Linked DNA regions of Homo sapiens: region 2 is linked to region 1. The links are contacts of gene promoters, found by promoter capture Hi-C in blood cells and fetal thymus (Javierre and others, 2016). All regions are on one chromosome and are shown on one strand. The core of a region is centred on a gene start or on the middle of the fragment in contact, and the rest is flanking DNA. Distances in the headings are between cores, read along the strand shown.

The links. Contacts are between HindIII fragments. The CHiCAGO score rates a contact against its expected background, and 5 or more counts as called.
Region 2: a fragment that was not itself captured here is called in contact with the fragment with the promoter of AP4E1 in region 1 in 1 of 17 cell types (total CD4 T cells); the score reaches 6.2 in total CD4 T cells.

Annotation. Positions count from the first base shown.
Region 1 is chr15:50,906,347-50,912,680 of GRCh38, reverse strand. AP4E1 (adaptor related protein complex 4 subunit epsilon 1) reads right to left here and starts at 3,998. Exons shown (of 21, transcript NM_007347.5): 1 at 3,753-3,998; 2 at 532-603. The coding sequence starts at 3,902. RefSeq lists enhancers at 2,922-3,663, 3,710-3,879, 3,900-4,189, 3,664-4,405. The HindIII fragment of the contact is 3,809 bases long and covers 3,598-6,334 here.
Region 2 is chr15:49,610,114-49,616,418 of GRCh38, reverse strand. FAM227B (family with sequence similarity 227 member B) reads left to right here. Exons shown (of 16, transcript NM_152647.3): 2 at 1,176-1,298; 3 at 5,151-5,204. The coding sequence starts at 1,248. Among named protein-coding and RNA genes, the nearest start is that of FAM227B, 7.6 kb to the left of the region's middle. The HindIII fragment of the contact is 173 bases long and covers 1,310-1,482 here.

The DNA.
Region 1 (6,334 bases), core at 2,749-5,248:
GTCTCAAAAAAAAAAAAAAAAAATCAAACTGAGTTTTAATCTAGCTATGCTGGGACAGCCCCACAGTGGCCTGCATAATAATGAATGACCATTCATTAAATAGTTGCTGAATATTGTTTGAAAAATCAGATTATGTAGAACAAACTTTAAAAACAACTAGGTCTTAAATAATAAAATTAGATATACCTACAATATATTAATTCAGGTCTGAAAATATCATGTTGAAATCCCAACCTTTTCCAAATGCATAACATTAAAAACATCAGATCAGCACTAGGGTCCCAAGAGTATCTCCACATTTATGTAATCATCATCACATTAGCCCTGACTTCACATAGGCAAATCTTGTTCTGGTGCAAACCAGTCAACAATAAAAGGCTAAAGTTAACATCTGAGTTGCTACCAACTATAATTCATTTTGACTATGATAAATCAAATTTTAGCAACCGATCATCAGTTAGATGCCACTATTGAGTCCACAGTGACTAGATTTCAAATTCAAATGTGTTGGCACTGACTATGCAAACCTACCAGTGTTGTAGTAGGAGCAGAAACAGTCGCTTTCAGACTACTCAGTTCCTGCTGGATTAATTTTTCTTCTTCCTGAGAAAGTGAAAATATTTAAATGCTTGATTAACTGTCTTTTAAAACTGTAACAGCATTTATCTAAACGGAAAAATATAATTTACAATACTTTTAATTTAAAAGAAACATTATTTTAAAGGAGAGTTACAAATACTATCTGCTTACGATCTATCTAAAGGCATTTCTCCAAACCTCAGAACCATCCCTGGAGAGAATAAATATTTCCAGGCTAACCCATCCTTCCTCTTTTCTTTACTCAGTTACTTCCCCTTAATGGTAGAATAGCAGAAAATGTTTTTTTTTAAAACTAAAGGTGGAAGCCGGGCACAACAGCTCATGCCTGTAATCCCAGCACTTTGGGAGGCCAAGGCGAGTGAATCACTTGAGGTCAGCAGTTTGAGACCAGCCTGGCCAACATGGCAAAACCCCGTCCCTACTAAAAATACAAACATTAGCTGGGGGTCCTGTAATCCCAGATACTCGAGAGGCTGAGGCAGGGGCAGGAGAATCGCTTGAACCCGGGAAGTGAATGTTGCAGTGAGCCGAGATCGTACCACTGCACTCCAGCCTGGGTAACAGAGCAAGACTCCATCTAAAAAAAAAAAAAAAAAAAAAATTAAAGGTGGAGAGAGAGTAGAAATTCTCCATGTATTGGCCCAAGAAAAGAGTCTCATCTCACATCTTCCCCTTAGAAGTAAAAAGTCTTCATGGAATTAAGAAACAGGGTAAGAAAGCAGAAACAGAAATAGGTCTTTTTCCCTTAAACTACATTCTTCTTCCCTGTCTTTTCCTCATTCCCCAAATCCTTTCCATAACTTCCTATCTCAGACACATACCAATGTGGTCACTCCTACTGTCTGCATTGTATGTTATCTCCCTAAGCACTTAAAAAATTGGCCCCATTTTTTTTTGGCTAATATCATGCTACCTTTAAATTACACACTGAATTACATGTTCATCAGATGGCTATTCAAAAGCCACTAGTGACGTACTGATACACGTGGATGCCTATCTACAGTTTCAAACTGCTATTTAAGACCAAAAATAACTTTTTAAAAAATTTTATTGAGGATCCCTTAAAAATTAGCAAAGGACAAAAACCTTAAGAAAAACAACATTATTAAGGCCACAAATGGCCAGGCGTGGTGGCTCACGCCTGTAATCCCAGCACTTTGGGAGGCCAAGGCCAAGGCAGGTGGATTACCTGAGGTCAGGAGTTCAAGACCAGCCTGGCCAACATGGCGAAACCCTGTCTCTACTAAAAATATAAAAATTAGCCGGGTATGGTGACGTGTGCCTGTAATCCCAGCTACCAGGGAGGCTGAGGCAGAAGAATCACTTGAACCCAGGAAGCAGAAGTTGCAGTGAGCCAAGATTGCACCACTGCATTCCAGCCTGGGCGACAGAGTGAGACTCCATCTCAAAAACAAAACAAAACAAGACAAGCCCACAAGTAATGATTCTGGAATGTGAAGCAGGTTCTCTCCGGATAGCATCAACTTATTAGAGCTGCCAAAAAAATATTTTTTTTAAACCTTCAGAGCACTTTCTTTTCTGTCTTTCCTTCTCTTTTAGCACTTCTATTGCATTGTAGTCATGCTTATACTTGTCTTAAGCCCAAAACGAATGACTAATTCCTTGGGAAAAGGGAATGTGTTTAATTCTATTTTCCTGTGTCTAACACATAACCTTGTTCCATAAACATCTGTTGAACAAATAATGACATTAACACGTGCTCTTTTTAAGATATAAACTCCTTGTAGCTGTGAATCGGTATACTACACAATCCGTGCAACCATCGAGCGCCTGTGGGGGCCCGGCGCGGTGGCTCATGCCTGTAATCCCAGCACTTTGGGAGGCCGAAGTGAGCGAACACTTGAGGTCAGTTCAAGACCAGCCTGCCCAACATGGTGAAATCCTGTCTCTACTAAAAATACAAAAATTAGCCGGGCGTAGTGGCATACGCCTATAATCCCAGCTACTTGGGAGGCTGAGGCAGGAGAATCGCTTGAACCCGGGAGGCAGACGCTCCAGTGAGCCAAGATCGCACCATCGCACTCCAGCCTGGGCGACAGAGCGAGACTCCGTCATTAAAAATTTAAAAATTTTAAGGCCGGGCAGGGTAGCTCACGCACGTAATCCCAACACTTTGGGACGCCAAGGCGGGCGGATCGCGAGGTCAGGAGATCGAGACCATCCTCGCTAACACGGTGAAACCCCGTCTCTACGAAAAGTACAAAAAATTAGCCAGGCAGTGGCGGGCACTTGTAGTCCCAGCTACTCGGGAAGCTGAGGCAGGAGAATGGCGTGAACCCGGAAGGCGGAGCTTGTAGTGAGCCCAGATCGCGCCACTGCACTCCAGCCTGCGCGACAGAGCGAGACTCCGTCTCAAAAAAAAACAAAAATTAAAATTTTTAAAACCTTAAGGCTCCAGCGAGCCGAGATCGAGATCGCACCATTGCACTCCAGCCTGGGCGACAGAGAGAGACTCCGTCAATAAAAATTTAAAAATTTTAAAAGTTTAAGAATTTTTATAACTGCTCATTTTCAAAGCCCACTTGAGGCAGAGACTTAGCAAATTTTACATTTTGAGAGAACTGTGCTTTTTCTTTGCCCAACACGTTGTTGTAACCCAAGAACCTCAAGCTCCCCAAAGATATTCAACAAGAGGCTCACAGGATCTCTTCAGGTATGCGACATCTGAACTGTTGTTCAGTTGAAGGCACCGGGGGAGAGAAGGAAACTGAGTAGGGAAAAAAAACTTTGTGGAAGGTAAATAATGTCTGACACTTCCATCGCACTAGGTATTTTCACACGCTTGACATCTCACCCAATCCTCAAAACAAACAAAAAACCTATGAATTATGTATCAGTACTTTTCCACCACAACGTTGAGAAAACACACGGAGGCTCAGAGGTTACAGAGATGTGCCCCCGATCAAAGAGTCAGTGTCAGAACTAACTGTGGAAACTCGGCTTCCCTGCTGTCAGTCCCAGCAGGAAAGTGAAGCTTCCAGGCAGACGAAAGGACGAACCGACACAGCAGCCCCTGAGCCCCGCCGGAGGGCTAACCCCAGAGGCCCTGAAGTCTCGCCGCCCGGCCAGGGCCTCCTGGCGCGGGGGCCTCACTCCGATGTCCCTGAGCTCCCGGGCCGGCGGGCACCTACGTGCTTGGAGGTGAGGGCTGTGATGCCGCGGACAAGGCTGCCCAGCCTCGAGGAGAAGGACGCCTTGGCGGCCGCGGGCCCACCACCGGGCTGGTTCTGCAGAAAGAGTCCCGGCAGCGCCGTCAGCGTCTTCTCCACTATGTCGCTCATCGCCGCCGCCGCCCGCGATGCCGCCGCCGCCCGCGATCCCGTAGCCGCCCGGCTTCATGCCCGGCCGCCGCTGCCGGCCCGGCCTCCGTAGGCACTTCCTGTTTTTTGAATAAGAAATCTTTATTGGCGTCCCACCTGAACAAGTTCAGCGTCGTTCTCGCGAGAGGCCACCAGAGGGCGCAAGAGACCGCGGGGGTGGAAAAGGCCGCTCGCTCGAGATTGCGCGCGTAAGTAGACCTCCTTTCTCGCGACGGGGTAGCGGTTCCGGAATCCCCCAGAACCGTGAGTCCTCCTGAGGAAGCCGTCGGGGGCCTGGCCCTGTTAGGCACTGTCTCCCAGAGTCCCCCTTTCCCACTAGCCGCCTCCGCGTAGCCCGAGACCGCGTCAGGAGTTGCGTCTTCCTGGCTGCGCCTTTTTCGGGACGTCCCCGCGCCGTCCGCCGCCTCTCACTGTCCCCGGAGCGCGCGCCACCCGCCCGCTTCCCACAGGCGGTTTCACGCGGGTCCCCGGCGCCGCGCGCGGCTCCGGCCCTGGCGACTCTTGGGACACCCGAGTAGTTGCGTGATAGCGGGGCTGTCCTGAGGATTCGGCGTGCCAGGTTGAGAGCCCGTCGCGTGCCGGGGACTCGCGGCCACTGTCGCTTCCCGTCCGCCCCTCTTCTCCTGGGATTTGGGGAGGTGGGCGGGAAAGAGAACTGGTCGGCGGCCACCCTTGCCGACTCCTCCTCAGCAGGTCGCAGTTGAAAGGTCATCCTTCTAGAGCCCACTCCCCTGGCCCGGCGGGCAAGGATAGGTCTCCAAGTCCCACCCTCTCACAGCGCTCGGTTCTGTTCCACTTTAGAACAGGTCGCAGTTGCCACTACGTAAACAGCTCCCCATAGAGAGAGTATTTTATTCATTCCGATTGCTCCGTCTTTTATCTAGAACAGAGTCTGGTACAATGGCTCTCGAAATGTGGTCTGGTGACCTCAGGGTCGCTGAGACCCTTCTAGGGAATTCACAAAGTCAAAACAACATTGATAACGTTTCTTACGTGTTATTTGCCGTTTTTACCCTCATTCTGTTGGAAATGTACAGAGTTTTCAAGCGGCTAGATGACGATTGACTAGCTGGTAAAATGTATCCTGGAGTATCCTTGTGTTTTCTAGAATTTTCTAAGGTAGTAGGTTTAGGGCATAAATACGTGCGTTTTCAGAGATTAATGCAATTTGCTCTCAGTACTCCTAGTGTGTTTCTAGGAGGTAGGTTAGGTAGGTGGTGATAGCCTCCCTTCAAGGGGAACAAACTTGCTAAATAAATAGAACAAACCAGCCCATAGTGTACAAACCACATCCGAGGCTCCTGGTTAGAAAATTTTGCAGCAAAGAGGTACGAGAGCAGAAGGGAAAATCCCCAAACTCTCACAAGCGCAGAAACCCATGATCAGTGTCGTTGGGCTGAATTATACTCATTATAATAGTAAAAAAAAAAAAAAAAAAAAAACACCACTCCTGGGTGAAGATTTAAGATACTAATAAGACATGCAGTGTATGTACTAGCATATACAACCACAGCGCACATGGCGACAGAAAACCAGAGAACGTGCTTAATAGCAGCACCCGTTCTCCCCGCTTCATGAATGATCCTGTGAGACTCCTACAAAGGGAGTTTCCCCAGTGTCAGTGCATGCTGTCTCACCTTTGAGCAGCCCGCTCTGATCAGCTGTGAGGGTGTACTTTCGCTTTGCAATAAACTCTTTTGCTTGCTTTTACTTTGGACTTCAAAATTATTTTGCACCGCGAAGTCCAGAACCTCAACCGGCCCACCAGCTACAGCTACACTTACAAGCTATCTTCGGTTATACCTGCTCTAATCTCTGTAACCTCCTTGTCACCTAATAAATGAGTTTTTTTGAAATCCTGAAGTTGTTTTAATACCTATATGGGAACATAAGAAAAAAGTTCAATTTGTTGGCTTGTCTCGCAAGAATATTTTTTAATATATTGAGAACATTTTAAAATATTTAAACTTTATCTAAAAGGGATACTCATTTATTCATTTAATTTTTTTTTTTTCAGAGTCTCGCTCTATCACCCAGACTGGAATGCAGTGGCACAATCTGGGTTCACTGCAGCCTCCTCCCCCTGGGTTCAAGCAATTCTCCTGCCTCAGCCTCCCGAGTAGCTGGGATTACAGGCGCCCGCCACCATGCCCGGCTAATTTTTGTATTTTTAGTAAACACAGAGTTTCACCATTTTGGCCAGGCTGGTCTCGAACTCCTGACCTCAGGTGATCCGCCCACCTCAGCCTCCCAAAGTGCTGGGATTACAAGCGCGAGCCACTGCGCCCAGCCAGAAAGGGATACTCTTTTAGAATTTAATTTTGTTATTTTATTATTATTTTTTGAGATGGTGTCTCGCTCTGTTGCCCAGGATGGAGTGCAGTGGTGTGATC
Region 2 (6,305 bases), core at 147-2,646, 1.3 Mb after region 1:
TTGCTGCTGTAACAAACAGCCAACAAGCAAAGTGGCTTAAAACAACACAAAGTTTATTATTTCATAGTTCTAGATATTTTCACAGATAAAATATCTGTGTGTATATGGAGAGAGAGTATAAGCAAGCAAGCTCTCTGGTGTCTGTTCTCATAATGACACCAATCATATTAGAGCCCCACTCTTTTAGTCTCTTTTAACCTTAATTGTCTCCTCAAAGGCTCCATCTGCAAATAAAGTCACATCTTGTTATAAGTGTTAGGGCTTGAACATATGAATTTGGGGTGGGGGCATGATTAGGTCCATAACAGTATCCTTAATTTAAAACTCCCCCATAATTTCAGGTTCAGGTTCAGGGAACATAACTAGCAGTGTCCACCAAACATTTAAGGAAGAAAGGAAGAAATAGTACTGATCTTTCAGATTTTAAATTCTTTCAGATAATAGAAAAAAATAGAGGCATTTCCCAACTCATTTTTTTTGAGACCATAATAGCCTTAATTCCAAATCTTCACATTATAAGATAGAAAAATTCAGGCCAATCTTTCTTATAAACATTATAATAGCTTATATTATTAGCCTTCCCTTGTCCATTTCTTGTTATATGCATGTCGTTTGTCATGTGACGTAGTAGAACCTCCAGCTTCATGAGCAGAATATATTTTCCAGCCCTTCCTCCCCTGCTGCGTTAGTCCGTTCTCACATTGCTATAAAGAACTACCAGAGACTGGGTAATTTTAAAGAAAAGAAGTTTAATTGACTCACAGTTCCACAGGCTGTACAGGAAGCATGGCTGGGGAGGCCTCAGGAAACTTACAATCATGGCAGAAGGTGAAGGGGAAGCAGATGCGTCCTACATGGCTGGAGCAGGAGGAAAAGGGTGAAGGGGGAGGTGCTACACACTTTTAAACAACCAGATCTCATGAGAAGTCTATCACAAAACAGCACTAGGGGGATGTTGCAAAATCATTAGAAACCACCCCCATGATCCAATCACCTCCCACCAGGCCCCACCTCCAACACTGGGGATTCCAACAGTTCAACATGAGATTTGAGTGGAGATACAGAGCCAAACTATCTGACTTGGTAAAAGTCAGAAGTGAGGTTTGTGGGTGAGGGGAAAGGGATTGTTTGGCTGAGTCATTTATTTTTGCATTTGGGTGTCTTTCATACCCCAGTTTGGTCGCCCAACTCACATTGAAGCCTAAGACCCAGCTGATTTCTCTTCATTTCTGCAAAGTTACTGTACCATGGCAGGCCAACGAACATGTCAAAGGAGGAGCAGCAGAGCTGGCCCCGGGGTAAGGAAGCTTCCACAGCTTTATGTTCACTTACAAAGGTTATATTTCTCTTGGAATTTCAGGTAATCAGGGCTCCCAGGTAGAGCTGGCTTTGTCACTGAAACACCAAGGGTTTGGTCTAGGTCTTAATGCTCGCTGCACAGATGGCCAATCACTGAGATGAGTATTGCCAAGGAAGAAAGCTTTAATAGGGTGCTGCAGCCGAGGAGATGGGAGATCAGTCTCAAATCCATCTCCCTGACTGACTAAAATTAGGGTTTTATATAGCAAGGAAGAAATGTAACCATGTGTGGGAAAACAGAAATTAGGGAGTGGTGGTAAGAAGGAGGAGTTGGTTAACAGGAAACAGGTAGTCAGTTAGGCAATCATGATGGGTGATGGTGAGGAGTCTAGAGGCTAATTGTCAAGATATAGTGATTTGGTATGTTTTAGTTCCTTGACACTATCTGGGAGGCCTGATGGTTAGTTTTCTGGGAAAGGAACTCAGATAAGACCAATGTAACTTTCTCAAGTTTTAAGACTAGAAGGATTAATTTCTATATTTATTTAAAGAAACCATAAACATTAGTTCTATGGGACAGTTAGGCTTGTTTTTAGCTTCATGGGTTTACAACTTCTGCAGTTGCACAGGGCCTTATGCTGAGAAGTACATGCATTTGGTTTAATGCTCTGATGTTATTATCTTCAAACTCAATAATTTTGAACAAGGAACTCTGAATGTTTACAAGTTATTTAACTGGTCCTGCCTCCTGGCATTCACCACTTTTCACTAACCCCATAGAAAAATATGATTTTTTTTTTGTCCAAGTTTGTCTTATTATTATCATGGAAGTGTAGGTGTTTTATATCCTTCTACATCCTACCAAAAGTAGAAATCTGTTTAATTTATACCTTACCTTATTTTAATTTTACCCCAAAAGAAACATGGAATTTTTGAAATTAGTTAGAACTTCACTATGCAAGTTTCACTTTCTTCACTTTTCTAATTCCCTTTAATTTAAATGTGCATATTATTTTTGGTGCTTTGTACTTGGAGTGGTTTGACAGCCATTACAAGAAAAAAAAGTCAATGCTTAAATTGTTTTCATTAAGTTTGATTCTGTATATTTGTAAATGTATTGTGAGTTCCTTCTAGCCAAATTGCTATACCCATGAAGCTAGAGATATTATATCGTGAGTATTTTTCTGTCTGTAAGCCTTTTGCATGCACCATCTCTCATATCTCTCATTCTTTTCAATTTGACTAGCTCTAGAGTTCCCTGTTTCCCATAACATGTTCTTCACATCTCTATGCATCTTTGCTTCTGTCTAAACATTTGCTTTCCTTTTTCAAATTTTTATTTTTAATTTTTAAGGGTACATCATAAGTATATATATATTTATGGCATACATGAGATAATTTTTGATACATACAATATATAATAATTATATCAGAGTAAGTGGGGTATCCATCATTTCAAGCATTTATCACTTATTTATGTTGTAGACATTCCAATTATACTCTTTTATTTATTTTAAAATGTGCAGTAAATTATTGTTGACTATAGTTAGCCAGTTGTGCTATCGAATATTAGATCTTATTCATTCTCTCTAGCTGTTTTTATTTGTCCGTTTGTTTTTTAGAGAGAGTCTCGCTCTGTCACCCAGGCTGGAGTGTAGTGGCACAATCTTGGCTCACCGCAACCTCCGCCTCTGGGGTTCAAGCGATTCTCTCACCTCAGCCTCTCGAGTAGCTGGGACACCTGGCTAATTTTTTTGTATTTTTATAAGAGACTGGGGTTTTACCGTGTTGGCCAGGCTGGTCTCTTGTACTGTTGACCTCAAGCAATCCACCTGCCTTGGCCTCCCAAAGTGCTGGGATTACAGGCGTGAGCCACCATGCCTGGCCACTCTGTTTTGTTTTGTTTTGTTTTACCTTTTTTTAAAATTTTTTATGGAGATTGGCTCTTGCTGTGTTGCCCAACCTGGTCTCAAACTCCTGGGCTCAAGCAGTCCTCCTGTCTTGGCCTCCCAAAGTGTGCTGGTATTATAGGCATGAGCCACTGTGCTTGACCCTAACCTATATTTTTGTACCCATTGACTATACCCACTTTCCCCTCACTTCCCACTACCCTTCTCGGCCTCTGGCAACCATCATTCTATCTCTATCTCCATGAGTTCAATTGTTTAATTTTTTGACTCTCACTAAATACTCATTTTCTATAATGGTTGTCACATACACTCTTTATCTTCTTCTTGTATTATCAGTTATATATTTTCTTATATTCATCATATATTTAGATGAATGAAATATCCCCCAATTCAAATATGTAATTATTTTTTAGCATTTTTTTCTAAAACATGAACTTGTGATTCTGTAATCTTGACCACTTTATATATTGATATGAAATATGTGTTTTAATAAATAAAAATGTAGTACAATCTTTTCAGTGATATCATCATGGATATTAGGATATTAGACTTCTGAATTCCTCTTATTTTTGCCTTCTCACTGGATTTTCATTCTCTAGAAGTATTTTTATTATTTTTCAAGTACCTATATATTTCTGACATTCATCTACTCATTTATGCTTTAATTTATGCACACTGCGAGTACTTATTATGCATTGACTATGAACCAGCCACTGTGTGAAATTTAGAAAATTCAGCCATGATTCACATATACACCATGGAATACTATGCAGCCATAAAAAATGATGAGTTCATGTCCTTTGTAGGGACATGGATGAAGGTAGAAACCATCATTCTCAGCAAACTATCGCAAGGACAAAAAACAAACACCGCATGTTCTCACTCATAGGTGGGAATTGAACAATGAGAACACATGGACACAGGAAGGGGAACATCACACACTGGGGCCTGTTGTGGGGTGGGGACAGGTGGGAGGGATAGCATTAGGAGATATACCTAATGTTAAATGACGAGTTAATGGGTGCAGCACACCAACATGGCACATGTATACATATGTAACAGACCTGCACGTTGTACACATGTACCCTAAAACTTAAAGTATAATAAAAAAAAATAGCCTCTCCAAGGAATTGGCCGGCTACAAAATAAACATACCAAATTAAAAAAAAAAAAAAAGAAAATTCAGCCATGATTGCACCATAGTTTCTATCCTCATAGAGATAATCTGCTGTATGTTACCACGGAGAAAACTTTGGGGGATAAGAAAGGCTTGATGGACAAAGTGACTTTTAATTTGTTATTTGAAGTAAGAGTTAAATAGGCCAAGAAAGGATTGAAAGAGGGTTTGGGAAAGGGAGACTTCTGGGCAGAAGGAAGAATGTAGGCAAAGTCTCTAAGGCGAAAAGGAGAAAGTTGTGGTCTGGATTAAAATTAGTTTGTGTAATGTTGAATACATTTTGAAATCACAAAGAAACTACTAAAAAATGTGATTTTTATCTATTAGACTGAAATATCCAAACATTTAAATTTATTTTAACTATGTAACTAGTTAACTTTTTAAAATACTTTATCAGCAAGAACATATTATATTTTTGGCTCTGGATTTATTATAGAGGCTATCCATGATAGCCCAAAATATCTTGGAACTCTTTTAGGAATCTGAAATGAGGACCTAAAGCAAGATTCATGTGGAGTTTTTCTCTAGGGCTAGTGTATAAGAGGGAAGCCTATTACAAAATTTGGTTTGGAGGCTAAGAACTTAAACATTTATGTGTGTCCCTTTTCAAAGTGGAGGGATGGTATAAAGTGAGCATTTTATGATATCTTACCGCTCTGAAAATGATAAATAGAGTATCATTTTATTTAAGTAAATTATTTGTAAATATTATGAACAGTCTAGTGAGTTTATGCCAATGAACAATGTTGATATTACTTTATTAGAAAATGCAAGAACCTCCAAAGAGCATTGAAGAATTCTTAAAGTTTCAAAATTGGGTGAGTAAAGCATCTTATTTTATGTGCCATTACATCATTTTAAAATATCAGTTATGGAGATTTAGAAGGCTTAGAATAAACTTTAAGACTAGAAATTTCAGAAATATGTTTCAATGAGGAAAGTGTGTATATAAATACTTATGTCCTTTGAGTAGGCTCTATGTTGTAGTCTTCCCTCTTGTCAACATTCTATTCTCTTTTTCACATTAAAAAAATTCTAGCCCTATACAGACATTTCTATATACTTTTGTTATTGTAAGATTTTTGTCTTATGTATTTACACCTTAAAGAATATCCAACAGTTATGCTTACTTATCTCATTTATTTATGCACCACACCTGAGACAGGTAATCTGTAGAGGTGTTACATCAATATTCCTTGATTATTGAATCAGAGTGAAAAATTCAAAATGTGTTTTCATGTTAAAAGTTCAGTTTCCATTGTTATGCAAAATTACTGACTTCGCCTGGGGTTATTGGACTTGCTAAGTCTTCCCTTGGATCCATGCATCTGCAAGTGTGAAGGTCATATTTGTTTTGCATTGAGGAATGTCAAGTAAGGGCCAGAAGAAAGATGTCAGTATAGAAAACAGAAAAAAGGTGGCTTTTTAATTAGATATGTTTGTATTTTGAGTGGATTGGAATATAAATAATTTACATTTATTTATGCTTAAATGTAAATAGTATTTGCTATGATTAAACTGCTAACAATGTAGTTTCAGAAATATCTACTTTTAAATATCTATCTTCTGTTTTTATATTTGTTTAGACAAGTTTTTTTTTTTTTTTTTTTTTACTTTCAATGTTTTGGGAAAGGATTGCGCTCAGATGAAAACATTCTTAGTCATAAAAGTTTACTTCAGTCACATGGTGTATCTAAGTATGTTGAAATACTTTTGGAACAAACTTTTTGTAACTATTTTGATTTAAATAATGATGCAAATGTGCTGCAGCCTAATGACAATGTTTAAGGACTTTTTAATGTTTTAAGTTTTAAGTTAAAATTAATCTAAATTCAGCAAATAATGGAGACTGTATTATTATACATGTTTGAGGACCTAGGATTTTAAATAAAAAATTCTAATTATTTGAAGTAGTAAAT